Linked DNA regions of Homo sapiens: regions 1, 2, 3, 4, 5 and 7 are each linked to region 6. The links are contacts of gene promoters, found by promoter capture Hi-C in blood cells and fetal thymus (Javierre and others, 2016). All regions are on one chromosome and are shown on one strand. Each heading gives the region's core, a stretch centred on a gene start or on the middle of the fragment in contact. The rest is flanking DNA. Distances are from core to core; before and after follow the strand shown. Region 1 overlaps DCUN1D4 (defective in cullin neddylation 1 domain containing 4). Region 2 overlaps PPAT (phosphoribosyl pyrophosphate amidotransferase). Region 3 overlaps REST (RE1 silencing transcription factor). Region 4 overlaps POLR2B (RNA polymerase II subunit B). Region 5 overlaps SRP72 (signal recognition particle 72). Region 6 holds the start of CHIC2 (cysteine rich hydrophobic domain 2). Region 7 has its middle 7.4 kb from the start of DCUN1D4.

Evidence for each region. Contacts are between HindIII fragments. The CHiCAGO score rates a contact against its expected background, and 5 or more counts as called.
Region 1: a contact is called between a fragment that was not itself captured here and the fragment with the promoter of CHIC2 in region 6, in 1 of 17 cell types (naive CD4 T cells). The highest score is 5.4, in naive CD4 T cells.
Region 2: a contact is called between a fragment that was not itself captured here and the fragment with the promoter of CHIC2 in region 6, in 1 of 17 cell types (non-activated CD4 T cells). The highest score is 5.6, in non-activated CD4 T cells.
Region 3: a fragment that was not itself captured here is called in contact with the fragment with the promoter of CHIC2 in region 6 in 1 of 17 cell types (non-activated CD4 T cells); the score reaches 6.0 in non-activated CD4 T cells.
Region 4: a fragment that was not itself captured here is called in contact with the fragment with the promoter of CHIC2 in region 6 in 4 of 17 cell types (naive CD8 T cells, non-activated CD4 T cells, total CD4 T cells and 1 more); the score reaches 8.2 in naive CD8 T cells.
Region 5: a contact is called between a fragment that was not itself captured here and the fragment with the promoter of CHIC2 in region 6, in 1 of 17 cell types (non-activated CD4 T cells). The highest score is 9.4, in non-activated CD4 T cells.
Region 7: a contact is called between a fragment that was not itself captured here and the fragment with the promoter of CHIC2 in region 6, in 3 of 17 cell types (naive CD8 T cells, non-activated CD4 T cells and total CD4 T cells). The highest score is 6.7, in naive CD8 T cells.

The regions. Positions count from the first base shown.
Region 1 is chr4:51,850,290-51,854,285 of GRCh38, forward strand. All of the region lies in intron 1 of DCUN1D4 (defective in cullin neddylation 1 domain containing 4), which reads left to right. Among named protein-coding and RNA genes, the nearest start is that of DCUN1D4, 9.1 kb to the left of the region's middle. RefSeq lists an enhancer at 3,166-3,996. The HindIII fragment of the contact is 7,268 bases long and covers 1-3,996 here.
Region 2 is chr4:56,391,737-56,395,622 of GRCh38, forward strand. PPAT (phosphoribosyl pyrophosphate amidotransferase) reads right to left here. Exons shown (of 11, transcript NM_002703.5): 11 at 1,626-3,812. The coding sequence ends at 3,616. Among named protein-coding and RNA genes, the nearest start is that of AASDH, 6.2 kb to the left of the region's middle. The HindIII fragment of the contact is 6,954 bases long and covers 1-3,886 here.
Region 3 is chr4:56,914,821-56,918,779 of GRCh38, forward strand. The region is part of intron 2 of REST (RE1 silencing transcription factor); the gene reads left to right. Among named protein-coding and RNA genes, the nearest start is that of REST, 8.9 kb to the left of the region's middle. RefSeq lists an enhancer at 1-448. The HindIII fragment of the contact is 1,322 bases long and covers 1,483-2,804 here.
Region 4 is chr4:56,979,522-56,983,620 of GRCh38, forward strand. The region is part of intron 1 of POLR2B (RNA polymerase II subunit B); the gene reads left to right. Among named protein-coding and RNA genes, the nearest start is that of POLR2B, 2.7 kb to the left of the region's middle. The HindIII fragment of the contact is 2,120 bases long and covers 708-2,827 here.
Region 5 is chr4:56,468,206-56,472,227 of GRCh38, forward strand. SRP72 (signal recognition particle 72) reads left to right here. Exons shown (of 19, transcript NM_006947.4): 2 at 1,448-1,568; 3 at 3,515-3,638. Among named protein-coding and RNA genes, the nearest start is that of SRP72, 2.6 kb to the left of the region's middle. The HindIII fragment of the contact is 492 bases long and covers 1,035-1,526 here.
Region 6 is chr4:54,062,396-54,066,601 of GRCh38, forward strand. CHIC2 (cysteine rich hydrophobic domain 2) reads right to left here and starts at 2,210. Exons shown (of 6, transcript NM_012110.4): 1 at 1,787-2,210. The coding sequence starts at 1,905. RefSeq lists enhancers at 1,618-2,118, 4,115-4,206 and silencers at 1,918-2,047, 2,278-2,517. The HindIII fragment of the contact is 3,181 bases long and covers 1,034-4,206 here.
Region 7 is chr4:51,833,690-51,837,857 of GRCh38, forward strand. It overlaps a transcript of DCUN1D4 not described here. Among named protein-coding and RNA genes, the nearest start is that of DCUN1D4, 7.4 kb to the right of the region's middle. The HindIII fragment of the contact is 7,583 bases long and covers 1-4,168 here.

The DNA.
Region 1 (3,996 bases), core at 219-2,718, 2.2 Mb before region 6:
CTTGAGTTAGATGACTTGTTCTGGTGAGCGGCTTTCCAGTGGATGGCTTTTCTGGCTTCTCTGTGGCCTGTAGACATGCAGGGCTCGGGTTTTCTCCCTGGATGTGATGATGTCTTTTAATTGTTATCTGGGTCAGGTTGGGAGGCAAGAAAGCCAAAATGGCTGAATTCAAATCCTTGCTCTGTCATCTCCTAGCCAAGGGACTGGAGTAGAGTTACCCAGCTGCTCTGTGTGCGCTTCAGAGCCCTCATGCCTAAAAATTGCCTGTTGAAGGCTGTTCAGTCACCAAGTGTTTATTGGGTATCTACTATGTACCAGGCCCTGCTCTTCATATTTCATGAAGTTTTCCTTTTAGTGTAGGGGAGGGGGCAGATAGTAACAAGTAAATTGTGTAATACGTCAGATGGTGATAGGTTCTGTAGAGAAAAACAGCAGGGAAGGGGTGCATGCAGGCACCCCTGTGTGCGGGCGTGGGGTGGGGTGGAGGGTGTTGTAATTTTAAATAGTGGAGCCAGGAAAGGCTTCACTAAGGAGGTTTTAAGCTAAGCCCTGATGGAGCTGAGGGGCCATTCCAGGCAGAGAGAATACAAATGCAGAAGCTCAGAGTGGGGAGCAGGCCTATATTTGAGGAACAGCAGAGGCTGGGGTGCTTAGAGTTGTGGGGGAGGGCAGAGGGAAGAAAGTAGGAGGCAAAAATCATAAGTGGTCCAAAGGATTAAATGAGATGAAACACGTAAAGTGTTTTTGATGCTTACAATTACTGTGTGATGACAGTCTCCTAGGTAGCCTTTAAAAAATCACTCTTGAGAAGAAAAGTTATAAGAAAGAACAGAACCAAATGAGGCATTCCCTCACTCAGCCATTCAGCAAACATTCAAGGGGATTTTTGCTGCCAGGTGCTGCTGTCACAGGCAGGACTGTGTGGGGGAGACCGGGGCTTCAGGAGCTTCCTTCAGTGAGTTCATTGTGGAGACAGAAGGAATGGATGCATGGGACGATGATGCCTGCTAGGTTAGATGGATGCCCCGGGGGCTTTGAGAACATGTGGGGAATGGTTAGCAGTTGTCATGTGAGTTTTAGCTTTTGAAGTTGGATTATGTGAAGAACAGGATGTGTATGCATGTGCAGGTGGCATATGGGGTCAGGTGGGAGCTTTCCAAGCCCAGCGACAACATGGCATGGTGGGGACAGAGAACTGTGGCAGGAGAGTGGGTGTTTGGTAGGCTAGAGTGGAGGGGAAGGTGAGGTGCAGGGCTAGGCAGGAGCTGGTGGCAGGGGTGGGGTGGGGTCGGTGGGAAGAACTCAAAAGAGGCACCAGGGAGAGTGTATGAGTGGAAAGGAACTGAGAGAAGGAAAGAGAAGTCCCAGGTGGGGCACAGGGAGGGAGGAGGAGCAAAGGGGAATGGGGAGGGACTAACACGAATTCAGTGATGATCTTGGATTTGCTTCAACTGCTTTGCCTGCATTAACTCATTTAATCCTCACAGCAACCCTCAATAAGTTAGGGACTGTTATTATCTCTGTTTCACAGATGAGGACGCTGAGGTGTAGAAAGGTTAACTCCCCTTCTCAAGGTCACACAGCTTATAAGTGGTGAATTGAGATTCTAACTCAAGCATTCTGACTCCATGGTCTTGGTAACCCTCTACTGCCACTGAAATCATTCTTAACATTTTGTTTGTGCTTTTCATTGAACCCTGATTGGAACACTGCATGTATATTGGAATTCTTTTTTTTTCTTTTGTCACTGGCCTATGAATGATGCTGACAGAGCCAGCTGATGGATTATCTCTTGGTTCTTTTCTTCTTGGAATGAGTCCCAGCAGGATCAGGATCTGGGATTTCTGAGTCTCTTCTTTCCCATTCTTCTTCATCCCCTCTCATTTTTGCTGGTTTGCTTACAATGAGAGTAGACATTTAAAAACTGATTTTAAGTGGGAAACTGAAGAATTGTGGCAAAGTATTTTCATACTCTTAACTAATGAAATAGTCATTTTTAGTCTTCTTAGATTTTATTTAAATAGACTTTGTTATTTTTAAATATAGGAGATCTCAACGACATTGCAGCAAAACTAGAAAACAACTACTAACATCATTTTTACATAACATTTTTGAAATTATTTTTATTTTTTTTCCTGTAGGTTAGGGTAAGTTTAATGTCTTGTCCTACATATGCAATTCCCAAAATTAAGCCACAGATCACTTCTTAATTATTAATTAAACAGGAAACGGGATAGTTGTACATTTAAGTCCAATAGCTAGTGAATTAGTAGTTTTAAACACCATCACCTTGTGATCTCTTCTGCCCTGTCTTTTTGTAGTTCTAGGTTCAGTCTGTCTCAGTGTCTTCTACGTTCTAAATAATAATAGGGATGAAAACAATTAACGTTGATTGGCACATAATATGGACCAGCACTGTGCTAAGTGCTTGACATGCACCATCTCATTTAATAATCCCCACAGTAGCTTCGCAAAGAGGTTCTGTTATTTCGGCTTTATGGATGAGGACACGGGCACAGTGAAGTTTGGAAGCATGTACAGGGTCACTCAGTTGGGACTCAGTTGGAGCTCTGACTCCAACCCAGGGCTTTATGTTATCAGAGCTGATTGACATTCTTTAACCAAAATCTGGGCTCATTTAACATTAGTGAGATGGAAAGATTTTTACTGTGAACTACCCAGTGATTCTGTGTGCTTCAGTGGGTAGTACAGATCATTTGTGCTCACCTTCAGTGGGTAGGTGGGGTGAGGAGAATGAAGCTAGGGCCCTTTGTACCATGTCACATTGGGAGTGCAGCCAGACGGGTGTCCTGAAGTGACTGAGTCCCTTGGGATAGCACCAGCAGGCACAGGCAGTGTGGTGGGCGATGGATGGATGCTGCCTCCCTTGGGCGGATGGTTTCTTCTCCCAGCCCCTTTTTTGAGTCCTGCAAGAGGAAGAAAAAGCCAGCAGCAATATGCTTGGATAGCTTTAACTTTGGATCTGTGTTCAGTGAAAATGCTGAGTCACTTTGAATGACCTGTTCCCTTATCAATTTTCTCCTTTGGCTTTTGTGCCTTGTAAATAGCAAATATTTATTGATGAGGAGAATGAAGTTAGTTAACACCTTCCTCACCTGCTACTTTCAATTCTTTTGGTTTTTACCCTGCTTTTCAGCTCTGCAATCTTTTTCCTGGACCTTGGCCTTTTCATCGTGTGCTGATAGGGTATGGTGAATGAGTTAGATTCCTGTCTAGCAGTGCTGAGGTTGTTCCAGGAGTGGATTGGCTACTGGCACGCCAGGGATTGAGTTGAGAGTCAGGGATAGAATCTACTTCTCTGGTTGCATGTTAGAATCACCTGGGCTGCTTGAGAAACACGTGGTGCCCCACACCCATTTTTATTTAATTGATCTGGATTGGGGCCCTGGTATTTGGTGTTTTTCAGTCTTCTTAGGTGATTCCACTGTGTAGCCAATGGTTTCATTTAAATATTAATAGCTTAATTAGGAAGCTGGGTTTATTTTGGGCTGTGGAGATGGGGCTCAAAAGATGCAGCAGCTCCCCCATGGGCACTGCACTGGGCAGATCGTGCAGACCCTTCCTGCTCGCCTATGACATAATAGCCAATTCTTGGTAGTGCTTCCCCTGTGCCACGCACTGTTTGAAGCACAGTGCAGCATTAACTCATTTAATCCACACGATATCCTTATGAGGCAGGCACTGTGATTATCCATTTCGTAGAAAAAGAAATTCCTACTTGTAGCCATGAAGGACATGTAGTATGAAACTGACCCATAAACCTAGGTTTTGGTTTTTCCTAGATTTACAGTATAGAAAACATTTCAGATCTTTGTGTTTTAGTAATTTAGCCTCAAATGTGAATATATTTGTTTTTACAAATGAAACTGAGACCTGTGCCATGTCATGTAGCTAGTGACTATCAGTTAGCATACAGAGTTGTAAATTGGTATTGTAAATCATTTAAAACACTACTTTTTTATGGTTTTGACATAG
Region 2 (3,886 bases), core at 102-2,601, 2.3 Mb after region 6:
TTGATATCTCTTGGTGCCAGTCTGCCCTCATGTTGAAGGGAGTCACTGGTAACTAGGAATTAGCATCAAAACCCTTTAGCCACATTTGAACAACAAAAGAGGTTTGGAGGGAGTGGATCTCAGGCTAAGTCTACCTGGAGTCCACTGTTAAGTTCAATTCTGTCTGTTCCATAGGCACTGTCTATCATCTCAAAGTGCTGGGAGAGCATTATTCTCTTAGGAGTTGCATTTCTATGCAAATTTGACAAGAAACAGGTATAAAGTTCTTAAAAAAAAAAAAAAGAAAATACAAAGTAACAATCTCAGCATAATAGTTTTCAGCCGTGAACCTAGGCTTAAAGACAACCAGTTGAATAAATCAAATGATCATGAAGAATTAGGTGAGACTTATTATACCATGTGGGCTATTTTCTTATTTTGTGTATATAAATTCCCCAAAGGAATGTATCCAGGTACAGCATGTAGTATGAGCAAAAGCACAGACATCTCTTTGTTTAGCTGGTACACAGCAATCCTATTACTTAGCATTCCATGACTGGCTTGAATTAAAGCAGAGAGAGCTAACTCTGTTTTAAAAAAGACCATTAGTACAATTTGAACAAAAAGTTTACTGAGGATGTTGCCAGTATTACCCCCTGGGTGGACTAAAGGATTTATGAAGTCAGATTCTGTCAAGTCACCCACAATATCTACCGATTGTGAAATTATCCTGCCAAATCAAAGAGGTAGGCATAAACAAGGAAGAATTAAGAGGGGCAAGAGTGTCATTAGGATGGGGAGTTATGTTCCATCATCTTGGGAAAAGCTGCCCACAGTATGGAGATGTTAGCTTTTCATTCTGGTTTACAGTTTTAATGTCTCTGGTTATAGCATTGGGCAGTTTTGTGAACCTTTGGGCATGAGATTTCTCCCTTAAAATTCAGTTAAGTTTGAGCTTGGGCTTTAAGAACATAGCAAGTCTCGTTTTTAGTAATTCTATGGAAGAAAGTTGGATTGGAGGAACCTAGAAGAATTAAAGATCCAGTCCAGCGACCAAGGTTTACCTAGTTGCACAGAAATTTTCTTAACACTGGCAGGTGCCCTACTAGTAATCTTTCTTGTCTGTGACCAGTTTATCCTTAACATGGGAGACTTTTTCTTTGGATACCTTCAATATTTTCAGAGTGGTATTTTCAGAGTGGTGCCTTTCACTTAGTTAATATGCATTTATGTTCCTTCTGTCATTTAATGGCTTGATTGCTCATTTCTTTTAAGCACTGAATAATATTCTATTGTCTGAATGTACTACAGTTTATCTATTCATTTACCTACCCACCCTGACACTTTGAATCTAATCCTGCTCTTCCATGACACTCCCTCTTTCCCCATAGTGCTTCCTAGGAACTTGCCACGATGTAGTGCTTACTTAGTACTGCTTTTCTAATTACTTAATTTGTCCCTCATAGTCAACCAGCAGTTTTGCCTGGTTCATAAGAGATGGCCTATTTATTGAAATGCCTGGATCAGAGAAATAAGATATGACTAGCTGGTGCCAAGAATGGAGCCTGGAAGTTGTCTCCATGCTGTTTACCATAAAGCACTAACTAAAGTCACTATTTAAAAAAAAAAAAAAAAGGACACACATATTTAAACATACTTATTACACATATTTATCAACAAGGCATCACAAATAAGTCACAAAAAGTAGGCTTAGTTTAGTTCACAATATAAATCCCGTGAAAACACATTTTTCATCTCTGCAGTTTATAATACTCTACGTATATGAATTTAAAGCAGTTAAACAACATTTGAGATTAAATTGGTAAAAAAAAATTGTAATTGAATTCAGACTTCAGAAAATTGTGAAGTAAAAGGCCATGATGGAGAAATATTAAGAATCTGTAGAATTACTAAACTGTCACAGTATTATTTTCCTTTACAAAAGCATCTCAGTAAAACAAAAACTACAGAAAACGCAAAGTAAAATCAGAGATTTTGGTTTAGTACTTTCCCTGAGTCTCTTGTTTTAAAAATCAAAGTAAGGCCAGTTCAAAATTGACCCACAGGTCTTGCCTCCTCCATGCTGCCATGGGGAGTACATTTAAGACAAGAGGCTACGCATGTTGAGGTGGTCCCAGGGCTTTATTCAAATGCCAATTTGCCCGTGTCACTGCCACAGGGTTATCTGACCCACTGCTGCATGTGGGCTTAAAGAGCTGTCAAAATTTTATCTTGGCCTGCTATAATATAATATGCGAGACTATATACCAAAGGAAGACAAACAGTTTCAGTTATTAATAAATATTAAATTTCTAAATGGATCTGGACACTATATACATCAAATTATGGTAACATAACAGAAACAAACACTTTTATGTTTAAAAATTCTTACATAAACAAAGGTTTGGGGTCAAGTCATCTTAAACTTCTAATCTCAGATGTTACAAGAAAAAACTTCAAAAAAGAAATCAAATTCATTAGATCTTAATATAGTAGAAAAAAGTGATTATAAGATGATACTTGGACTTGGATTGTAAGTTGATACTAATTCCCCAAAGTGGTTGTCTCTTTGATCCTTAAACAAAACTGGCCCCTATTGTGTCTGTACTTGATCACTTAATTGCAATAATATTTATGTGTATGTGTACATGTATATGTACATCTACATGTATATATGTTTGCAAGTGATCAAGCACTTCATTAAAAAAAGCATATGATAATTAATTAAATTAAGGATAAAGGGATTGTTTGAATCTAAAAATTTGGTTTTTATTTCAAATGTACCAGGTTACTTGCTGAGCTTATAGTATCAGGGCACTAAATACTATGGATCACATTTTCTAGTCAAATGTAGGAAAAACTTTTTCACAGATTTTTACAACCCTTTTTAGGACATCTCAAAGAGAGATGGCAAAGATCTGCCAATTATGTCTCCTTCCATCATAATGAAATCTTAATTAATTGTAAACTAATTTCAAAAAGTTAACAATCATTAGCTTTCTGAAAGCTAACAATCATGAGTTGTCTTAAAATCAGAAGTGAAATGATGGCTCAAATCACAAAAGTATGACACTTATTCACATTCTTATTAATTATTTAATAAGTATCCCATTGCACATGTGGGGAAACTGAGGCACCAGATTATTATTATTTTTTTTTAAAGATTTGTCTACAGTTAGACAGGGAAGCCAAGGTCATAACTACAGCCAGAACTGTAGAGGCTAGACACCTATGAGGTATAATGTATTCTATTCAAACTTTGTGTGAAATGGTATATTTAACTCACCTGTCTTGTTGGCATCACCTCTCCTTAACCCTAACTTCTTGCAAACCCTTTAAAGCATGGACTTGGGAAATGTCAGTGACCACCTGCCTTCTCTGACCAGGTTAAAAAGGCTAGCCAATGCTTGTGTAAAAAAAAGAACACCACATATTGTTGTATTATATGCAATTGGAAATGTTCAGTTATCGCACTTTGGTATCCTTTTCAGAAAAAAAAAAAATCTCAAAACTTATAAACATAAGCATGGCATTTTACATTGTACCAACTGAGTAACAGTAAATAGATGAGGTGTGACCACTATAACTTCTTGACCAACTTTCTATCTTGAAACTACACACATCCAACCCTACCAGCTACCATTCTAATTCTACAGGATATTTTCCAGTGAGACAAGCTGTACAATGACCACTCTTTTCAAAACATTCCAGACCATTTCCATTTTCTTGGATCATAATATCGTGCTTTTTCTCTTTCTGTTTTTTAAACTTTATCCCTTCTTGTACAGATGAAACCAGTCCTTCTACTGACAGATACACAACACTGTTTGCTCCTAAAGAAAGAGGGAAAAATAAAAATGTAATAAGAATTCCTTTAGAAAGGAAGAAACGCGTCAACAGAGAATAG
Region 3 (3,959 bases), core at 894-3,393, 2.9 Mb after region 6:
TGGGATTACAGGCCTGAGCCACCAAGCCTGGCCTGGTTTATTTGGTCTTAATGCTTATTTTTCCCCAGTATTACCTTCATTCTGATTTTTTTTTTTTTTAACTTTTTTTTTTTTTTTTTTTTTGAGACAGTTTTACTCTTGTCGCCCAGGGTGGAGTGCAATGGTGCAATCTCGGCTCACTGCAACCTCCGCCTCCCAGGTACAAGCAATTATCCTGCCTCAGCCTCCTGAGTAGCTGGGATTCCAGGCATGCGCCACCACACCTGCTAATTTTGTATTTTTAGTAGAGACAAGGTTTCTCCATGTTGGGCAGGCTGGTCTCGAACTCCCGGCCTCAAGTGATCCACCCGCCGCGGCCTCCCAAAGATTACAGGCGTGAGCCACCACGCCTGGCCAATTTTGTGTGTGTGTGTGTGTGTATTTTTTTTTTTTTTTTTTTTTTTGAGATGGAGTCTTGCTCTGTTGCTCAGGCTGGAGTGCAATGGCGTGATCTCTGTTCACTGCAACCTCTGCCTCCAGGGCTTAAGTGATTCTCCTGCCTCAGCCTCCCGAGGAGCTGGGATTACAGGTGCGTGCCACCACGCCCAGCTAATTTTTTAAAAAATTTTTAGTAGAGACAGCGTTTCACCATGTTGGCCAGGCTGGTCTCGACCTCCTGACCTTGTGATCAGCTGACCTCGGCCTCTCAAGGTGCTGGAATTACAAGCGTGAGCCACCAAACCTGGCCTTTATTACATTTTAAAACAATTTGGTGATGTATAGATTGAAGGTTAATATTTTGATTATGTAAATTCTGAAAGTATCTCTGGTATTAAATGGATAGTTCTGAAAATTATGGAAAATAAACTCATCTGGTGCGGAAGAGTAGAGACAGAAAAGACAGGAATCACTTAAATTGATAGTGTTCAGGAATTACTTCTCATTTCCACTTGCATTAGTAAGTAGCCCAGTTTTCTGATTGGCTTAGTGGGCTTAATTGTGTTTCTTGTGCCCTTCTATTCTGTGCTAATCTTCAGAACAATCCATTGAGGAAAATAGCATCTGTGATGATAGTTCATGTTTACACAGGGGAAAACTTCAGATTTAAAAGGCTGAAGTGATGTTCCCAAGGTCATATACAAGTATCATTTATAGCCGTTCCACGATGGCTCACGCCTGTAATCCTAGCACTTTGGGAGGATGAGGCAGGAGAATCGCTTGAACCTGGGAGGTGGAGGTTGCAGTGAGTCGAGATTGTGCAACTGCACTCCAGCCTGGGGGACAGAGTGAGACTCTGTCTCAAAAACAAACTACAAGTAGCATTTAAAGTTCAGCAATCTCGACTCACTGCAACCTCCACCAAAAGGGTGGGGGGAGCTGGGGACTTTCATTCTGGTTGACCTCTTTAGTTTAGTGGTTTTGATATTTAACTTGTTCACAAAATCTACTTTTAAAGAAAACCTTTTTGCCTGTATGTGTAACTGAAAAATCAGTAGGTAACTAAGCTTTCTGGAGGAGAGTTATGCCTAGTTTGTGGAATTACACAGATAAAGTAATCTGTTGTAAAGAATTTAAAAGCAGGCTGGGCGAGATGGCTCATGCCTGTAATCCCAGCACCTTGGGAGGCAGGCAGATCACCTGAGGTTGGGAGTTTGAGACCAGCCTGGTCAGCATGGTGAAACCCTGTCTCTACTAAAAATACAACACTTAGCCTGTAGTCCCAGCTTCTCGGGAGGCTGAGGCAGGAGAATCACTTGAACCCAAGAGGCAGAGGTTGCAGTGAGCCAAAATCGCGCCACTGCACTCCAGCCTGGGCGACAGAGCGAGACTGCGTCTCAAAAAAAAATAATAATAAAATAAAAGAATTTAAAAGTAAATTATCTTTGATTCTTCAAGTTTATCTGCAGTGGTATTTAATTTTTTATTGAGATACAGTTTACATATGCAGTTCACTATATATTGGCCTGTTCTGAATATTTCACACAAGTGGAATCATAATAAGCAGTCTGAATAATGCTGCTATGAATATTCATGTTTAAGTTTTGTGTGGACGTATGTTTTTGTTTCTTTTGGATATATACCTAAGCGTGAGATTGTGGGGCAGTATAGTAGCAACATTTTGGGTAATTGCCAAACTGTTTTCCAAATTAGCCATGCCATTTTACAATCCCACCAGCAATGTGTGAGGGTTCCAATTTCAGCACATCCTTAGCAATAATACTGTTAACATCTGTCTTTGTGATTACAGCTATCTTAGTGGATATGAAGTCTTCATCTCCTTGTGGTTTTGATTTGCATTTCCCTCACTGCTAATGATAATGTTCATCTTTTCATGTGTTTATTGGCTATTTGTAAATCTTTTTTTTACAGAATTCCATTAACATAAAACTATCTTAATTGTTCCAGGTCATAAGGTAGGCATTCTGTTGCTACCAACTCTTTACAGCTAATTCGTAGCTACCAGCGAATTACAGCAGAATAGTTATGAGGAACACATTTCCCATCTATCACCATTCTTTTTGTTGTTGTTTGTTTTTTGTTTTAAGACAGGGTCTCGCTCTGTTGCCCTGTGTGGAGTGCAGTGGTGTGGTCACGGCTCACTGAAGCCTCGGCCTTCTGGGCTCAAATGATCCGCCTACCTCCCAAAGTGCTGGGATTACAGGCATGAGCCACCATGCCTGGCCTGTTCTTTTTTCTGTGTACCACCTTTTCCTTATTTTATTAGACACATTTGTTTCTGTCTTAGACAAAATTGATAGCTTACATTTATTGAGGGCTTTACTATGTGCCAGACACAGTGTTAAATGCTCTGCATGTATTATTTAAGCTTTTGCAATTACAGGAAATGAAGATTCTGTTACTTTTACAGATGGGGAAACGGTGTTTTAGTAGCTTTACCAAGGTCATAATTATCTTGTGTTTGGAGACTATATTAAAACAAATTGTATACCTTTTTTTAAAAGCTTGTTTTGCCGGGTGTGGCGGCTCATGCCTGTAATCCCAGCACTTTGGGAGGCCGAGGTGAGTGGATCACGAGGTCAGGAGATCGAGACCATCCTGGCTAACAAGGTGAAACCCCGTCTCTGCTAAAAATACCAAAAAATTAGCCGGGCATGGTGGCGGGCGCCTGTAGTCCCAGCTACTCAGGAGGCTGAGGCAGGAGAATGGTGTGAACCCAGGAGGCATAGCTTGCAGTGAGCCGAGATCTCACCAGTGCACTCCAGCATGGGCAACAGAGTGAGACTCCGTCTCAAAAAAAAAAAAAAAAAGGCTTGTTTTGTTGTTGACAGCCATGTCTAAAAAGAATATACGTTTCCTACCTTTGAGTCTTAAATTCTTCAGTATTAAATCACTGGCCTCTAGTCTTCAGTCCCTGTGGCTTTTATAATTTGTTTTAAAAATTGATGACTGGTTGGGCATGGTGGCTCATGCCCGTAATCCCAGCACTTTGGGAGGCCAATATAGGCGGATTGCTTGAGCCCAGAAGTTCGAGACCAGTCTGGGCAACATGGCAAAACCTGGTCTCTACCCAAAAAAAAAAAAAATTAGCTGGGCTTGGTGGCACACGCCTATGGTCCCAGCTACTTAGGAGGCTGAAGTGGGAGGATCTGTTGAGCCCGGGAGGTCCAGGCTGCAGAAGCTACGTTCATGCCACCACACTCCAGTCTGGGCAACAGAGCGAGACCCTGTCTCATAAAAAACAATAAAAAGAAAATTGATGACCTTCTCTTAAATTTTTCTTTTTAGCTTAATGTTTTTTATTTATTTTTATTTTTAGAGACAGGCTCTCTCTCTGTACTCCAGGCTGGAGTATAGTGGTGCCGTCATAGCTCATTGCAGCCTCAAACTCTGGGCTCAAGTGATCCTCCCGCGTCAGCCTCCCAAGTGAGACTACAGGGTCTCACTTTCACCCAGGCTGGAGCACGGTGGTACAATCATGGCTCACACCAGCCTCATCCTTCTTGGGCTCAAGCAATCCT
Region 4 (4,099 bases), core at 518-3,017, 2.9 Mb after region 6:
AAGGATGACTTTTAACTTCCTCTTCTCACAATGTCACAGTTCTCAGATGATATGTATTCTGCTGCACTGGGCCAATGTATAATACCTGTTTGTTTGCGCATATGGAATTCTTAGTAGTGGCCGAGCGCGGTGGCTCCCGTCAGCACTTTGGGAGGCCGAGATGTGCAGATCGCTTGAGACCAACCTGACAAACATGGGGAAATCCTGTATCTACTAAAAATACAAAAATTAGCCTAGTGTGATGGCGTGCGCCTGTAATCCCAGCTACTCGGGAGGCTGAGGCCGGACGATCGCTTGAGCCCAGGAGGCGGAGTTTGCAGTGAGCTGAGATCGCACCACTACACCACAGCCTGAGTGACAGAGTTAGACTGTCTCAAAAAAAAAAAAAAAAAATTCTTAGTTGAGTCTAGTGTATTTTCGTAGCCGCCTTTTCCATTCTCCATATCTGCTAATTCAAACCTTATTTTCTTATAGCTCTCAATTCCTTGGCCACCCCCTACATCTCCTCTCTCTATTCCCTCAGGTACTTCTGATAAATCAGATGGAAAAAATTGAAGCAAAAGCTTAATTTTTTTTTTTTTTTTTTAAGAGATGGGGTCTGGCCATGTTGCCCAGGCTGGTCTCAAACTCCTGAGGTCAAACCATCTGCCTGTCTCGGCCTCCCAAAGTGCTGGGATTACAAGCATGAGCCAATGTGCCCAGCCAAAAGCTTAAACTTTTAAAGCTGTTTAAACTTCTGTCTCATTTATATCTTGTGTTGTAGAAATTTATTAGCATCATTATATTCCTTGTTCTTTTTTAACTACTATCTCAGTAGAAGAAAAATTCGAAAAAAAAGATTTTTAAAGCATAATTTTTGGCTGGGTAATATATTCTCATAGCTCACAAGCCAGAAAATTTAAAAATGTTAAAGTGGGGTGGCTGGTGCAGTGGCTCACGCCTGTTATCCCAGCATTTTGGGAGTCTGAGGCGGGTGGATTACTTGAGCTCAGGAGTTCGAGAGCAGCCTGGGCAACATGGGAGACCCCTCTCTATAAGAAATAGAAAAATTAGCTGGGCGTGGTCTTGCTCACCTATAGTCCCAGCTACTTGTGGGGCTGAGGCTGGAGGATCGCTTGAGCCTGGGAAGTTGACACTGCTATGAGCTGAGAACAAAGTGAGACCTTGTCTCAAAAAAAACAAGTTAAAGTGTCACGTCTCCTTCTTACCCACCATCTGCCCAGTTTGAACTCTCCACAGTGGGTAACTACAGTTATAACAGTTATAAGAGGTTCTTATCACTCCACAGTTTCTTTTTTTTTTTTTGATGGTCTTGCTCTGTTGCCCAGGCTTGAGTGTGGTGGCGCAATCTCGGCTCACTGTAACCTCCATCTCCCAGGTTCAAGCAGTTCTCCTGCCTCAGCCTCCCGAGTAGCTGAGATTACAGGCGTACACCACCGTGCCCAGCTAATTTTAGTATTTTTAGTAGAGATGGTTTCTCCACGTTGGCCAGGCTGATCTCAAACTCCTGACCTCAGGTGATTCACCTGCCTCGGCCTCCGAAAGTGCTGGGATTGCAGGTGTGAACCTCCAAGCCCAGCCTCCACAGTTTCCTTATGCATATTTAAGCAAATATAAATGGGATTTTCTCTTTTTTTAAAGACAGTAATATTCACACTTTTCTCCACTTTTAGATTTTGTTTAATGTGTCCAGGAGATTTTCGTATCAGTACACAGAAAGCATCGCGCCCCCCCTCCCGTGTCCCCACCCCCAGTTACTTAGTTTGTGTGGATGTACCATAACTTAAGTAGTCTCTTGATGGATATTCGGTTTATTTCTAGTCATTTTCGGGTTCAAACAGTGCTGTAAATGAATAATCTTGTACGTATAATTTGCCCAAGTATGTCTGTGGGATACATTTCTACATATAAAATTGTCAGGTCAAATGATATGCACGTTTAACATTTTGCTAGATGATGCCAAGTGACCACCATAGTGGTGATTGTACTAATTTTGCATTCTTATTAGCAATGTATAATGATCCTGTGGAAAAAGAGTTTATCAGGGTTGCTTTAGCAGTGAACCTACATTTTATTGCCCATGTCCTCTGAAATGTTTATTAGATAACGTCCTCATCAGTTTTCAGTCACTATGTGAAAATGTCAGATTTCTGTCATCCACATGGAAACAAGTTAAATTCTTTTCATTGTTACCTTTTTCTTCTAGTATTTTACCTTTCTTCTTTCACTCACAGCCAAACTTATAAAAATAATAAGCTGTCCTTGTTTCTAATTTTCATCTTTCATGTGCTTTTCAACTGATTACAATATGTTTCTACTCATGCTACTACATTAAGATAGCTCTAAGATTGACAGCGACTTCTCAATTGATAAATGAGATGGATATTTAAAACTTATCTAAACCCTGTGGTCTTCAAAACTGTTGATGACATCTTCCCGGAAACTCACTCAGCTTTCTAGCGACATCACTTTCACTTGATTTTTCTTATCTGACTTTTCTCATTTTCTTTCCTGTTCACATTCTCCTTGGGTGATCTCATCCATTTTCCATTGTTTCAGTTACCATCTGTATGCGGATAACTTCTGAATGTGTATACTTCTAGTTTAAAATCTGGGGTATCTAACTGCCACTAGCCAACTAGGATATCTCCCAGGCTGCTTAACCTTGTCAACTGCCCAAACTGAGCTAATTATTTTCTTTTGCTATTCCCCTCCCAAAGCCACTGCCTCCTGTCTTCTCTGTCTCGGTGAAGGGCACATTTGGCCCTCTGTATCTGTAGGTTTCACATCTGTATATTCAATTAACCTTGGATTGAAAATATTAAAAAGCTTGAGGCCAGGAATTTGAGACCAGCCTGGGCAACATAGGGAGACCTCATCTCTACAAAAAAATTTAAAAAATTAGCTGGGCATGGTGGCATGTGCCTGTGATCCCAGCTCCTCGGGATACTGAGGTGGGAGGACTGCTTGAGCCCTAAGAATTTGAGGCTACAGTGAGCTGTGATCACACCACTGCACTTCAGCCTGGGTAACAGCAAGGCCCTGTCTCAAAAAACAAAAAAGAGAATATTAAAAAAAAATTGCGTCCTTGTAAAAATGTACAGACTTTTTTTTTCTTGCCATTATTCCATAAACATTACAAGTAAATAATTATTTATATAGCATTTACATTGTATTAGGTATTATAAATAATCTAGAGATAATTTAAAAGATACAGGAGGATGTGTGCCTAGGGTATATAACAGTGCCATTTCATGTCAGGGACTTAAGCATCTGTGTTTGGTATCTATGGGAGGTCCTGAAACCAGTCTCCAATGGACACTGAGGTACAACTGTTGTACCCTCTGTTGTTGAAACCGAAAGCCTGGGCATCATTTTTGACTCCTCTCTTTCACCTCTATATCTAATCAGTCACCAAGCCCTGTTGGTTCTGTCTCCTAAATATGTCAAATCTGGCCACTTCTCTATCCCCTCCACCATCATTCTAGTTCATGTTGCTGCCATCCCTTGCCTAGATTACTCCTAACTGATTTGTATACTTCCAATCCACTCTCCACACTGGCCATAGGGATCTTTCAGAAATGAAAATCTGACCTAGCCACAACCCTGCTAAACTCATATCTCTTGGTAAAGGCCAAACTCTTCTTATTCCACTTCCAACTTCACAATCTGTGCTTCCGCTACATTGGCCTTCTATCATTCTTTGAATATGCCATCCTGTCTTGCATTATGGGGTCTTTTGCACAATTTGTTTTTTTCTATTTGGTAGGATTCTTTCTTGACTCCTACCTTTGTCCCTTCCTTTTGCCTGATTACTCCTGTTTATAACACGAGATCTCTGCTCAGGTTTTTTTTTTTTTTTTTTTTTTGAGATGGAGTTTCCCTTTGTCCCCCAGGCTGGAGTGCAGTGGTGTGATATCGGCTCACTGCAACCTCTGCCTCCCAGGTTCAAGTGATTCTTCGCCTCAGCCTCCTGAGTAGCTGGGATTTCAGGGATGCGCCACCATGCCCTTCTAATTTTTGTATTTTTAGTAGAGACGGGGTTTCACCATGCTGGCCAGGCTGCTCTCAAACTCTTGGCCTTGTGATCCACCTGCCT
Region 5 (4,022 bases), core at 31-2,530, 2.4 Mb after region 6:
GAGGCTGGTGCTAACCAGGTGGAAGCTGTACGGGTTCTACGGGGCGAGAGGAAAGGGCTGGATCTGGATGTCAGGCCTGTCATTCCCATAGATGAGATCTCTTCAGTGTTATTAAGTTAGGAAATATGTGTGTGGAAGCACCAACACTTGAAATAATGTCGGAAGAAAAGTTTGGCCTGTTTTTTTGCCCTGTAAGGGATGATTTCGGTTTTTACCGCCTTTGGTGTGAGGTTTAATTCATCATATTCTTTTGTTCCTTACTACATACCTGGAATATGGCCATGCTGCTTAATGTTCTCGGTGGTGCGCAGTTCTTCTCTACTGAAGATACAGCCTGTGCATGTTAGATTTGGAAATGTAATTACCAAGGCAGGGCTTAGCTGTTCAGAGTAGCAGTAACCTAAAAGGTGTGTCAGTAACATGCAAAGCTATCTAAGTAATTTTCAACACTCTAGTACTGGGTTAACGTGAAAAGTAGTGATTGTGCCCACAGTGCACTTTTGGTGATTTCAGACATTGAGGAAAATAGCTACGAATTAGAATTATTTGATCCCTAAATTTGTTTGAATTAACTCTAGCCTTCCAACCAGTACTGTATACTTAGTATAGTATTTTGCAGGAATTCTTTAATCAGCAAAGATTGTCAACTTGTTTACCAGTATGTTTTCTTAATTGGTAGAAATTCTTGTGATTCTTTGAGAATTGGACTTCTGTAGTTGCACAGGAGCAAGAGTAACTATGATCCTGGTCATTTTAACACCGAACAGTTGTTAGCGTTGAAACTTGCCACCTGAGTTCTTCCTTATACTTTGGTCATCTTAGTTGAAAAGGGGAAATTTTAATGATTTTTGGAAACGTTGCCAGCAAGATAAATTGCCTTTGTATTATACTTTATAAGATTTTTCCAAAATATTCATTTCATATTGTCAGTAACCTTATTAAATAGGTAATGCTTTTCTAATCATTTTGTAGCTAAGAAAACTGAGATTTGGCTGTTAAGTGATATGCCCAATACCTCAAAGCATTTAGTGGCAAGCTTGCACCAAACCTAGGTCATTTGCTTCCAAATTCTACCTGAACTTTTTCCCTGTGAAGTAATGAACTATGTAGAATGTAGCATGCATTTCAAGATGAAATATCTGGAGAAATTGCTTCTTTCTTCTTTATTTCACTGCACTTTTTTGGTACATGTATATTGGGAATCTTTATCTCATTGAAAATTTAATCTATAACTCTCCTTATTGTCACTTCTTAAGTTAAAAGCAAAGATTAGTTGTTTTCTGGGTTTGTTTTGTTTTGTTGCTGTTTCTTCCAGTTGTTCTGACCAATTATTTCTGTTGCAATAAAAGTAGAAATTTAGCTTTCGGAGAGACAGGGTGGGAAAATTTAGTAAAAATGTGAAAAGGAAATGGATTTAAAAATGACTTTTCCTAAAATTGTTCTCTAGTACTACAGATCAACAAAGATGACGTAACTGCCCTGCATTGTAAAGTGGTATGCCTTATCCAGAATGGAAGTTTCAAGGAAGCTTTGAATGTCATCAATACTCACACCAAAGTGTTAGCCAAGTAAGTGATTCAGTTAGTTGCTTGTACAGTTATTAGAAACACTTACTATAGCTATAATCTCTTCCATGTTTTTTCCCAACTATTTGCTGATTTTTTTTAACGTTTTTTTCCTTCCTTTTTTTCCCCCCTTTTGCTTGTCAATAATGTTTCTGAACTGGAAGGAATACTAGTAACTTCTGTTTTTTTCAGCCTTAGAGAGTTTTTTTTTTTTTTTTTAACCACTGTGTTTCCTTTGAACCGCTAAGGAGGTGAACCATAGAGAGTTGTGGGGCATAATTATGAGTCGTTGGAGGATGTAGCAAGAATAACTCAGTCGAAGTTTCTTTACTGTTATACCTAGGCTCCAAAAAAATATGTATTGAAATTAAGTTTGAAGCATATTAATGGGATACTGGTTTATAAGGTGCAGAACAATATATATTATACTTCCTTTTACAAGAGGAGGAGGATATAAAAATTTATATATGCATTTGCCTGTATTTGCAAAACAAACAGTATAAAGAGAAACAATGAATAGTCATTTGTGGGAGGCCTAAGAGGGCGGATCACGAGGTCAGGGGTTTGAGACCAGACCGAGCAATATGGTGAAACCCCATGTCTACTGAAGATACAAAAAATTAGCTGGGTATGGTGGTGTGCACCTGTATTCCCAGTTACTTGGGAGGCTGAGGCAGGAGAATCACTTGAACCCAGGAGGCAGAGGCTGCAGTGAGCTGAGATCGTGCCATTGCACTCCAGCCTGGGTGACGGGGAGACTCCGTCTCAAAAAAAAAAAAAAGTCATTTGTAGGAGGTAATAGGAACAGGTTAGATTTGGGTAGCAGTGGGAATAAAGCCTCTTAGTGTATCTCTTTTTCTTTTTATATTTGAGGCGTATAAATGTGTTAGAGATTAAAAATTAATTGTAAACTTTATTAAAAATAAAAGGGAAATAGAGGCAATGCTGCTTTTCTCCTATTAAATATGTTTGCTAAAATTCAGTCTCTTGATTTTGGGCTATTTTGTGAGAAAAGAGACATTTTCAAAAACATTTTGTCAATGAGTCTTGGATAAAAGTTTTTTTTTTTTTTTTTTGGGAGGAGTCTTGCTCTGTCGCCCAGGCTGGTGGAACCTCCACCTTCCGGGTTCACGCGATTCTCCTGCCTCAGCCTCCCAAGTAGCTGTGATTACAGATGTGCACCACCACGCCCAGCTAATTTTTGTAATTTTAGTAGAGACAGGGTTTTGCCGTGTTGGCCAGGCTGGTCTTGAACTCCTCACCTCAAGTGATCTGCCCACCTTGGCTTCCCAAAGTGCTGGGATTACAGGCATGAGCCACCACACCTGGCTCAAAAATAAATTTTTTGTTAGGTAAGTAAATAAAGGACATTAGCCTTTGCTTTGATAAATATTTTTCCTCATGGATTATGGTTGAAACATCAACAATGAGGTATCACATTAATGTAGATGAATTTTTAAGTGTGTGTATGTTAGTAGTGTTTACCAGTTGTTTGATTACAGGTACTTCTTTTAAGATTTCTAGTTACTGTTTCTTTGCTAATCATTTGTTTCTTAAACAAGTTTAAAGAAATATGGCTTATTGTTTTGTTAATGAATTTAAGAAACTTCTAAAACAACCCATTTAACATCCTTCAGATTATCTTTGTATCTAAGACAATTACTTATTTAGCAGATGAATGATTTCCTTCTTAAATGTTTATTTCAAAAGGCCAATAATTTTAATAACAATATCCATGAAAGAGAGGCTAGGGAAGTTGATATATGCTTAATTATATGTTTGATTGATATACATTTACAAGCTATCTGATATTTAGACAAGTCTCTAACCTTTGTCAGTTTTCTCATCTGTTATCAGGACTAAATCCAGTGTTTAGAGTGGTGTTGTATATAATGGGTGCATTGCATTGTTAGATAATAATCAGATACTGTTTTTTTTTCCTTCTTCAGTAACTCTCTCTCCTTTGAAAAGGCATATTGCGAGTACAGGCTGAACAGAATTGAGAATGCCTTGAAGACAATAGAAAGTGCCAACCAGCAGACAGACAAACTGAAGGAGCTTTATGGACAAGTGGTAATTACTGCTTTTAAATACATGTTGACAGTGATACTGAGTGAGCATGACTACCTCTAGCAAGGAGCAGGGTTGAGGAAACCCAGCCCATCCTGATGCTCCACAAAACTGACCACCAAACCAGTCCTTAAGGTTTGAACATAATTCCTCTTCTTGATCTTCATACAAACAGTTGCATATATAATGTGCTATGAACAAATGACTTCCTCAGGTAATCAGAAAATCAAAGAAAATGAACTAATCTGTTTAATTTTGACTTTTGAGTTAGAAAGATGAAGCACATTGAGCTTGTATATTAAACAGATTTGAAATACTATTTCACTAATATTTTACTCTAAGGATGTCATGATAGATAAGAATTTAGATGATTCTAGCCCATGAAAT
Region 6 (4,206 bases), core at 960-3,459:
TTTGGCCTTCAACTGGCCTGGGGTGGAGCAAAGACAATGGTCTTTTTTTAAAGACACCCAGGATTCTAATGGACAGCTAAGTTTGAAAACCACTAATAATTATTTTCTACCCTATTAACCTCTCCACGTAGCCAACTACAATCAAGTTTACTGATTACCTAGGTTCTGAGCACTTTGCCCACTATTGCATTTTCCACTTGCCCAACAAAGTGCTTAGCTTTTCTTCTCCTTAACAGAGGAAACATTACAACTACAGCGTCGCCTTTTTAAATGACAAAATTCTCTAGCTTTTCTTTGACATGAGGAATGTAGAAGGAGGGATAGATGGCATGACAAAGTTTGGAAATCACTTCTTTAAGCATCCACATACTCCTTAGGCTTAAAACAGTGCAAAAAGGTCCTAAAAGTCAAAATAAAATCAAATGGCAGGTTATGAATTCTGTGATATATGTTAAAAGTTTAATATCCATGATATTTGGTTATACTTCTTAAGCTGGTGACAACACTTAGAAAGTATTATTGTGGTGAATTAAATTCCACTGTCTTGTCATGGTGCTGTGATGGCAATTATGCAGTGTTTTTACCCTGTTAAGTCACCTGAACATAAACTAACAGGTACTAAAGAAATTAAAGCATTACATAAGCATACTCAAACAACAATATGGCTGGTCATACGAGAAATGCAATTATTTTGCTGACAAACTTATATGAGAAGTCTTACTGTTTCCCTAAGTTATTCACAGCACATCCCACTCACTCTTCACCAAAATATAATGAAGACTATTCCAGACATTCTCAGACTTGCTGGCTCTTTTGTTTCACTGAAAAGGTGAAGAAGTACAGAGATACCTGACAAGTATGGAAGTCTGATCTATTATTTGAACAAGAGATCTAAAATGAGAGAGTATCAATGTAATACATCAAGTGGTACAAAACTGTGGACTTCATAGTGAAACATTACAAAACTTCCTGCTTCCGGACAGCTCATTATTTGGTTCAAGGCTTCACATTCCTTTGTCATGGTCTTTCCGAAAGCTTTCATTCCTTATTAATATCAGACTTTTAATGTTACTAGTGGGACTTTCCAAATTAACAAGCCCCAAGTTCGTGCCCCAAGGAGGAGCTTCAGGACTACAATTTTCCCTCAGTAACCTGAGCAGAGTGTATGTCCCTCACGTAGTTGTTGTTGTTGTTGTTGTAAACATATTTCTTTCTGTATATCTTAAATTTGTGTTCAACTATATATTTTTATCACGTACAATTACAAGAACTTGCATTAGTTCTGCGGAAATTAGTGGAAAAACTGGGAGACCTGTGGGTATGTGTGAAATAGACACGAAACGGAGCTTCGCTGCCAATTGTCACTGGGGTCTCACACGGCCCAGATCTGGCCTCTGAGCCATGTCACTGGGTGCAAAGGCACAGACAACCACAGGGTAACTGGGCGAGAAAACAAGGAGGCTCCCTGTCAATACACGTACTTCCACCCTGAAGAGGAAGGGTGGCCCGCAGGGCAGACCCTAATGAAAACCCGTGCCTACTGGGATCGTCACATCGCCCGGGCCTGTAGGGCCTGCTAAAGGGGTGTGTGGAGGAGGAAGGACAGCGTCCGTCCCCACTTCGGAGACCCAAACAAATGAAAATAAGCCAAGTTCTCACTTCCTGGTTGCCTACTCTTTCGGAAGGCCCCCGACACCAGACGGACACAGGGGAAACGGGGCTCCCGTGGAGTAACGGGGCCCACCCCAGCCCGCACCTCCCGCCCTCGCCCTCCTCCGGGCCTTACACGGTGACGTGACCGGAGCCGCGGACGACCACCGGGTCCGGCGAGTACTTGAGCAGCTGCTCCTCCAGGGCCCGCTCCTCGTCCTCCTCTTCCTCATAGATTTCGTCGAAATCCGCCATCCTGAGCCTCCGAGCTCCCCTGCCCAAAGGGCCTGACTCCCGGGGTTGGCGCCGGGGTACCGGCGGGCGAGGCGGCGGAGGCTGAGGGGAGTCGCCGCTGCCGCCGGCTCCGAGGCCGCGGAGTTCGCTGTCGGCTGTCTCGGCTCCGGCTACAGAGGGGATGGGGTCTGGACCGTCGCCGCCACCGCCGCCGCCATTACCATCAGCAATAACAACAACACAATGTCAACATCCGCCCAGAGGCCGACACCTCCACAAGCACAGACGCCGCTGCCGCCGCCGCAGCAGCAGCAACTCAGGAAACCACAGCAACAGCCCGAGCCACCCGCAGCGGGAGCAGCCGGCTACGGCATCGCGAGACTTCCCGGGCCAACGGGCGGGCGGGCGCGTGCGTGGGCGCGTGGGCGAGCGGACTGGCTGGCGGGCGGGCGGGCGCGCGCACGTGCGGCCTCGCGCGCTCCCAGGCCACCGTCTTTCCTCTGCTTCTACCCGCAGACGGCGACCGGGGCGCGCGCTCCCGCCGGCGGGCCCCCCTCCGCCGACTTCTGGGTGGCGGACCCTGGGGGCGGCGGCTCCGCTGACTGGAGGCCGCGACCCGCGACTCCGACAACGCAGCTTGGAATGTCCAGTGGGACATGCAGTTCCCCAAAGTCATCTCTAACCAAAACAAACAACTGAAAAGAAAAGCCCTGGCTGGAATAGACACATTTTTGTGCGTGTCATTGCCAGTTTATCTAATAATCGCATCTCGCTTTTCCTCAGGTTTTGAGTCTATGATGAGAACCAGAGTCTCTTTTTTCCCAATTTGAGGAGTCCAGCAGAGACACTGCAAACATTTGTGCTCACCACAGGATTTTTCAAGACATCTCCAAATTCAAACATCTTATCCCTTGATCCCCTTAAGTATAATCCAATATATGAGGCCAGCGATGCTGGTATTTTTTTTTTTTTCTTACAAGAAATCTCACCGTAGTCATGCTATGAAAAAAAACTGATAAATTACCTGGATTCCATATTAGAAGATGCAGTTTCTTGCCCCAACTCTCTCACCAAACATAACCTGGTTTTTGTTGTTGTTTCCTTAAAATCTTAGGGAATTCCTTTCCTTTTCTTACCAGTTCCTACCACAAAAAAGACCTGAAAGAAAGGGCAGAGGAGAGGAAGAAAAGGAGGCAGGAAGGAAGAAAGGATAGAAGGAAGGACGAGAAGAATGAAAGAAGAATGGGAGAGAAAGAAAGAAGGGGAGGAAGGAAGGAAAAGGTTTAATGGAGTCTACTTAGCTGCCTAGTAACAGTTGAACGGTCACTTTGGGTACTTGGTTTCATTAAGCATATAAACAGCACAGGGGAAGGAGTGGGCTTCTGAGAAGAGAGTCCTGGACAGTGAGGATACACCATGGGAGAAGAAAGGATAGTTCTACTGAGCCCAGCGCTGGTCAGGCTCTTCAAGTGCAGTGTTCATGTCACAGTAGTCGGCTTTAGATGGGTCACTGTTGACGTGGAGAAAGTGCAAAGGAGGTCAATGAGGACAGTGAGAGATGCCAACCTCCTTTTGGAAACAACTGAAGGAAATGAGTGTGGTTAGCCAAGAAAAAATGAAGGAAAAATACAGTAGTTGTATCAGACTTATTGTATCCCTCCCTGGAGGGTATTTGTTCATTCAACAAATATCTACTGAACTCTAGCTATGTGGCAGGCACTGTGGACGTGTGTGAATGAGGCACAGGCCCTGACTTCTGGTAGCTTATCTATTGTTAAGGCAAGCAATTGTCATCTCTGCCAGGGGCTCATGGAGGAGGACACAGGAAGTGTCAGTGGGGCACACAGGAGGCAGCTTGGTCTGGTGTTTAACAATGTGTGTTCTGGAACCTGACTACCTGGCCTTGAATGTCAGCTCTGCCACTTACTGTGTGACCCTAGACAAGCCACTTAACTTCCCTGTTCAGTACCTGCCCCATTGGGATGCTCAGCAGATTCAAGGGCTTAAGATCGGTGAAGTGCCTAGAAGAAGGCCCAGTACACAATAAATACGGGGTAATAGGTGATGCTTAAGGCTCCCTAGCTTATCAACCCTGTGAGGGTTACCACAGCATTATGTAATATTTTACTGCTTATAAAGCACGTACATAATATATCATTTAATATTCCCCCAAGAACCTGTGAGGTAAGCAAAGAGGGTGTATTTATTTTCAGATATGCTATGTTTCAGAGATGCTATGATATGCTATATTTCAGAGATGCTATGTGGCTTTCTCAAGGCCATGTGACGATTTAAGATTTAATGGTCTAATTGAGTATACTG
Region 7 (4,168 bases), core at 632-3,131, 2.2 Mb before region 6:
ACAGGCTGGCCACTTCTGTGTCTTCCTTTCCTCACCTGTGAAAGGGGAGAATGTGCTGAGCTCACCTCTGAGATTATCTAGCCCCAAGATTCCATTCCCTTTTGTTCTGGTTCTGGTTCTGGTTCTCCTGCAAAATTCTGTTCTAGTGCTGGAGGCAGTAAGCGGAAAAAGACATGACTGTGGGGAGCCTCAGTCAAGGAAGGCTTAATGGAGGTGAGCTTTAAGCTGTGGCATCAAGGTGGATGAGGATTTGTATACCAAGAGTAGAAGGGGGGAGATTTTGCAGAGTGGGAGCCTGGCTTGGGGAAGTATTTTAGGTTTTGGTGTTGAGCCATTTGTTTGTTAGGAGTCTTTCTCTCTCTCTCTCTCTCTCTCTCTCTCTCTCTCTCTCTCTCTCTTTTCTTTTCTTCTTTCTTTTTTTTTTCTTTTTTTTTTTTTTGCTGTAAATCTGTTTGCAAGGGGTAATATCTTAACTCATCTATATTTCTCCCCTAACCGAGAACAGCAAGCCAATCATCCACAAGGATCTGAGGGAATGAGACGTTGGAAAAGCAAGTTTTGATAAGGGCAAGTTAATCAAAATAGGTCCTAAATACAAACATGTCTAGGGTGTCTGAATTAGGCTGATTCCCTTGGGGTCTATACTTCGTATGTGTGCTGGGGGTTTTGGGGGTGGTAGTTTGTGCTCCAGTAGCACAAACTGAGAGTGCTTCAGGGAGGCAGGGAAGAAAGAAGCATCTCCATTTCATGATGCTGAAAGGACATGAGGCTTTTACACACCCGACTGGCCCTATACCCTTCCCTAGATCATTAAAATAGAATAATCTTGGCACTAGTCTATTCTCCTTCTGAGTCTTCAGGCTCCTTCTCCACGGCTTTCCTCAAGGATGTTGTTCAAGCTCTTTTTAATCTTCTTCAGCCTATTCACAAGTTTAGGGAACAAAGAGTGAGGTTTGCCTTTACTCGCTGAGAATGGGCCTTGTCCCGAAAATGGGAGCAGTCTGTCCAGGAGGGCCACCCACCAAGAGCCATGGTCAGAGGCCCTGGGCACCCGGGACAGGAAGCTGGAAAGGGGAGCAGAGGCTCCCAAAGAGGATGTGGGAGAATGGGAGCAAATGACGCACGTCTGATCCATGCACAATGGCAATCCTTTAAAGTCGCATTGCTTGTAACTACACTCTGCTACTTAGGGACCTACTCTTACATATGCCAACTTGTGGTCCTGTTTCCAGATCCTCTAATCTGCTTATCAAGGAAAAGAATAAAGGCCCATACCCTGATATTGGGGAAACTGTGTTTCATGTTGCCTGTAATGGTGGGCAGAGAGAATACAGGAGATTTGCCTTGGACTCCAAAGACTATGCTAGGTGTTTACTGATGCTAGGAAAAAAAGCACAGCTTTCACATTAAAGAATTTGGAATCTGTGTTGGGGATGCAGGTAGCGGGTGGGCAAGCAGCCCTCTGTAAAATGTTATCAAAGAGGCAACATAGCACAGTGAGTAAAAATACCAATCTGAAGCTCATCTGCTAGGATTTCATTCTCTGACTTCCATCACTTACTAGCTGTGTGTCTTTGAGAAAGTTACTTTACCTCTCTGTGCTTCAGTGTTTTCACCCATAAAGTGGGTTTTACAAAAATGTCTACCTCTTGGGATTGTTGGGAAGATTAATGACTTAACATGAGTACTTGAGACAGTACCTGCTACAAAGTCAGTGGTACTTAAAATGTTTGCCAATATTTCTATTCCCCAATCTGTTATCTGTGGATTTGAAATGTTTCTCAAAGCTAAAGCTATAAAATGTGAATGGAGGTTTAGGAACCACTGAGGTTGTGGTGATGGTGCTTTGAAGCCAGAAAAAGTGCTTGTGAGATGGAAGAGTAAAGAATAAGAGAGAAGCTATTGTGGGGGCCCAAGGCTGGACTTGTAGGCTAAGACTAGCCTGTGGGGTGGGGACAGGGCAGCTGGGAGGTCTGGGGCATTTCTGGGGCTTGAGGAGCTGCTTGGGGCCTCGGGTTGAGGGTGAGGGAATGCCATGATGAGATGAGAGAGATGGCAAAGGAAGACTGTGGGTGGGGGTACCTGTGTCTGGGTGTGGGTGGCCTCACAAGAAGCAGTTCTGACTAGACCCCTGTTTGGAGCTGGAATTGGGTAAAATTTCGAAAGAGATGAAATCTATTCTTGGCATTTCATCTCCAAGAGCTCTTCTCCTCTCTTGCTTCATGTAAAGTACCTTCCCACTGCCTTAAAATACTGGCCCCCCAAGCCAAGCCTTCCTCCTCCCACTGCTCCACAGCCTGAAACTGTTCACTTAACCCACCAGCCCCCTAACAGAATTCCCATCATTTGAGTGCAGGCTCAGATGTCAACCAGACTCGGGAGGAAAGCTAACAGAGTGGAACTAATCTCTCACTAACAAAATTACTGAGAGCCATGGATTGTTCCCTAAAGCCCCTGGCTTTTAAAAATAAAATACTTGTTAACTTGAATGTTTAATCTAGGAATTCTTAACTCAGGAGCTGGTGGGGTAGCATGAGTGGGTTGCAGGCCTTTGATAATCATCACTGTGAATGATTAGTAAAAGGGGTCTGTGACCCCTAAAATGTTAAGGACCATTTGCTTTAACCTGTCTTAGCTGAGGCAGTGTAACAAAGTAAAATGTAAGCATTCGGGTTAGTTGGAAATAAATATTTTTCAATGGGGTAAGCTAGTGGTTTGCATGTGTTTGTGTGCGTGCCTGCAGATGAACATATGTGTGTGTGTCCAAATTTATTTCTTTTTCAATTTTGGAACCATAGATTTTTCTTCAGTGCTTGGATTCATTGCTTTCCTCCCACCAACATAGCCCCTGTGGTAGATTCAACTGGGGGTTCAGATCTGAGTGTTGGGCAGAACGGGGTGGCTGAGGCGGCTGTAACCCGGTTGTAGGGTCTGGAATCTGCTTAATCATGGGTTTTTGACATACTTCATGCTCTTCCCCACTAGGACAGGAAGTTCTTACTTCCATAACACATTATCATCACCAAGGAAGTGAGCACATATTTTCCACAGCTCCCATCCTCCTCTTCCCTCCCCCATTTCCTATTGCTGTCTGCCTTCCCCATCCACTCTCCCAGAATGCTTCACTTTGCCATAATGAGATGCTCAGCTGCCATGCAGCCACCAACAACCGGAGATGGATGGGGTCTCCTGTACTGCCCTGAGAGGGATGTTAGAAAGACACTGTATTCATGGTAGCAGGCTAGAGAAGGCAAGGAGAAATTAAGAGCCTGACAATACACAGAAGCCATTATCCAAATAAAATGATTATTCTTTCTGTCCAGCCCCTGCTAGCTGGAGTAATTGAAACAATGCTATATTTATGAAAAACACCATAAAGGTCATGCATTGTTTAGACTCAGTTGGAAAATTGCACCTTCTGAGATCAAATTTAATGCAGCATCATTAGGACTTGATTAGCTCAATGCAGAATAAGGTGAAAGTACTCAATTCAGAGAAGAACATGTGGTAATGAATGAATACATTTTTATTCAAATACTTTGTTAATTCCCTAGGCAGGTGTGATTTCCATAAAATAAAAGGTCCTGAGTAAAAAGGAAAAGAGTCAGTTTAAGAATTCTATGGCTGTACTGGAATAAAATATTAGCAAAAAGACTTGCTAATGCTACCCTGATAGTGATGTGTTAAGAAATCTTAGGCCGGGCGCGGTGGCTCACGCCTGTAATCCCAGCACTTTGGGAGGCCGAGGCGGGCGGATCACGAGGTCAGGAGATCGAGACCACGGTGAAACCCCGTCTCTACTAAAAATACAAAGAATTAGCCGGGCGCAGTGGCGGGCGCCTGTAGTCCCAACTACTCGGGAGGCTGAGGCAGGAGAATGGCGTGAACCCGGAAGGCGGAGCTTGCAGTGAGCGGAGATCGCGCCACAGCACTCCCGCCTGGGCGACAGAACGAGACTCCGTCTCAAAAAAAAAAAAAAAAAAAAAAAAAAAAAAAGAAATCTTAGAAGTTAGAAATAATTTACAAATAAATGATATTTTCTCTATATCCAGGAGAGGCAAAAAAAAATCATTGCTAAACGAAATTAAAACTGAAACACAGATGTCAAATATAATTGGAAAATTCTTAGCTTTTCTGAGAGATTTCTAAGATGGCTCCTTCATGAGGA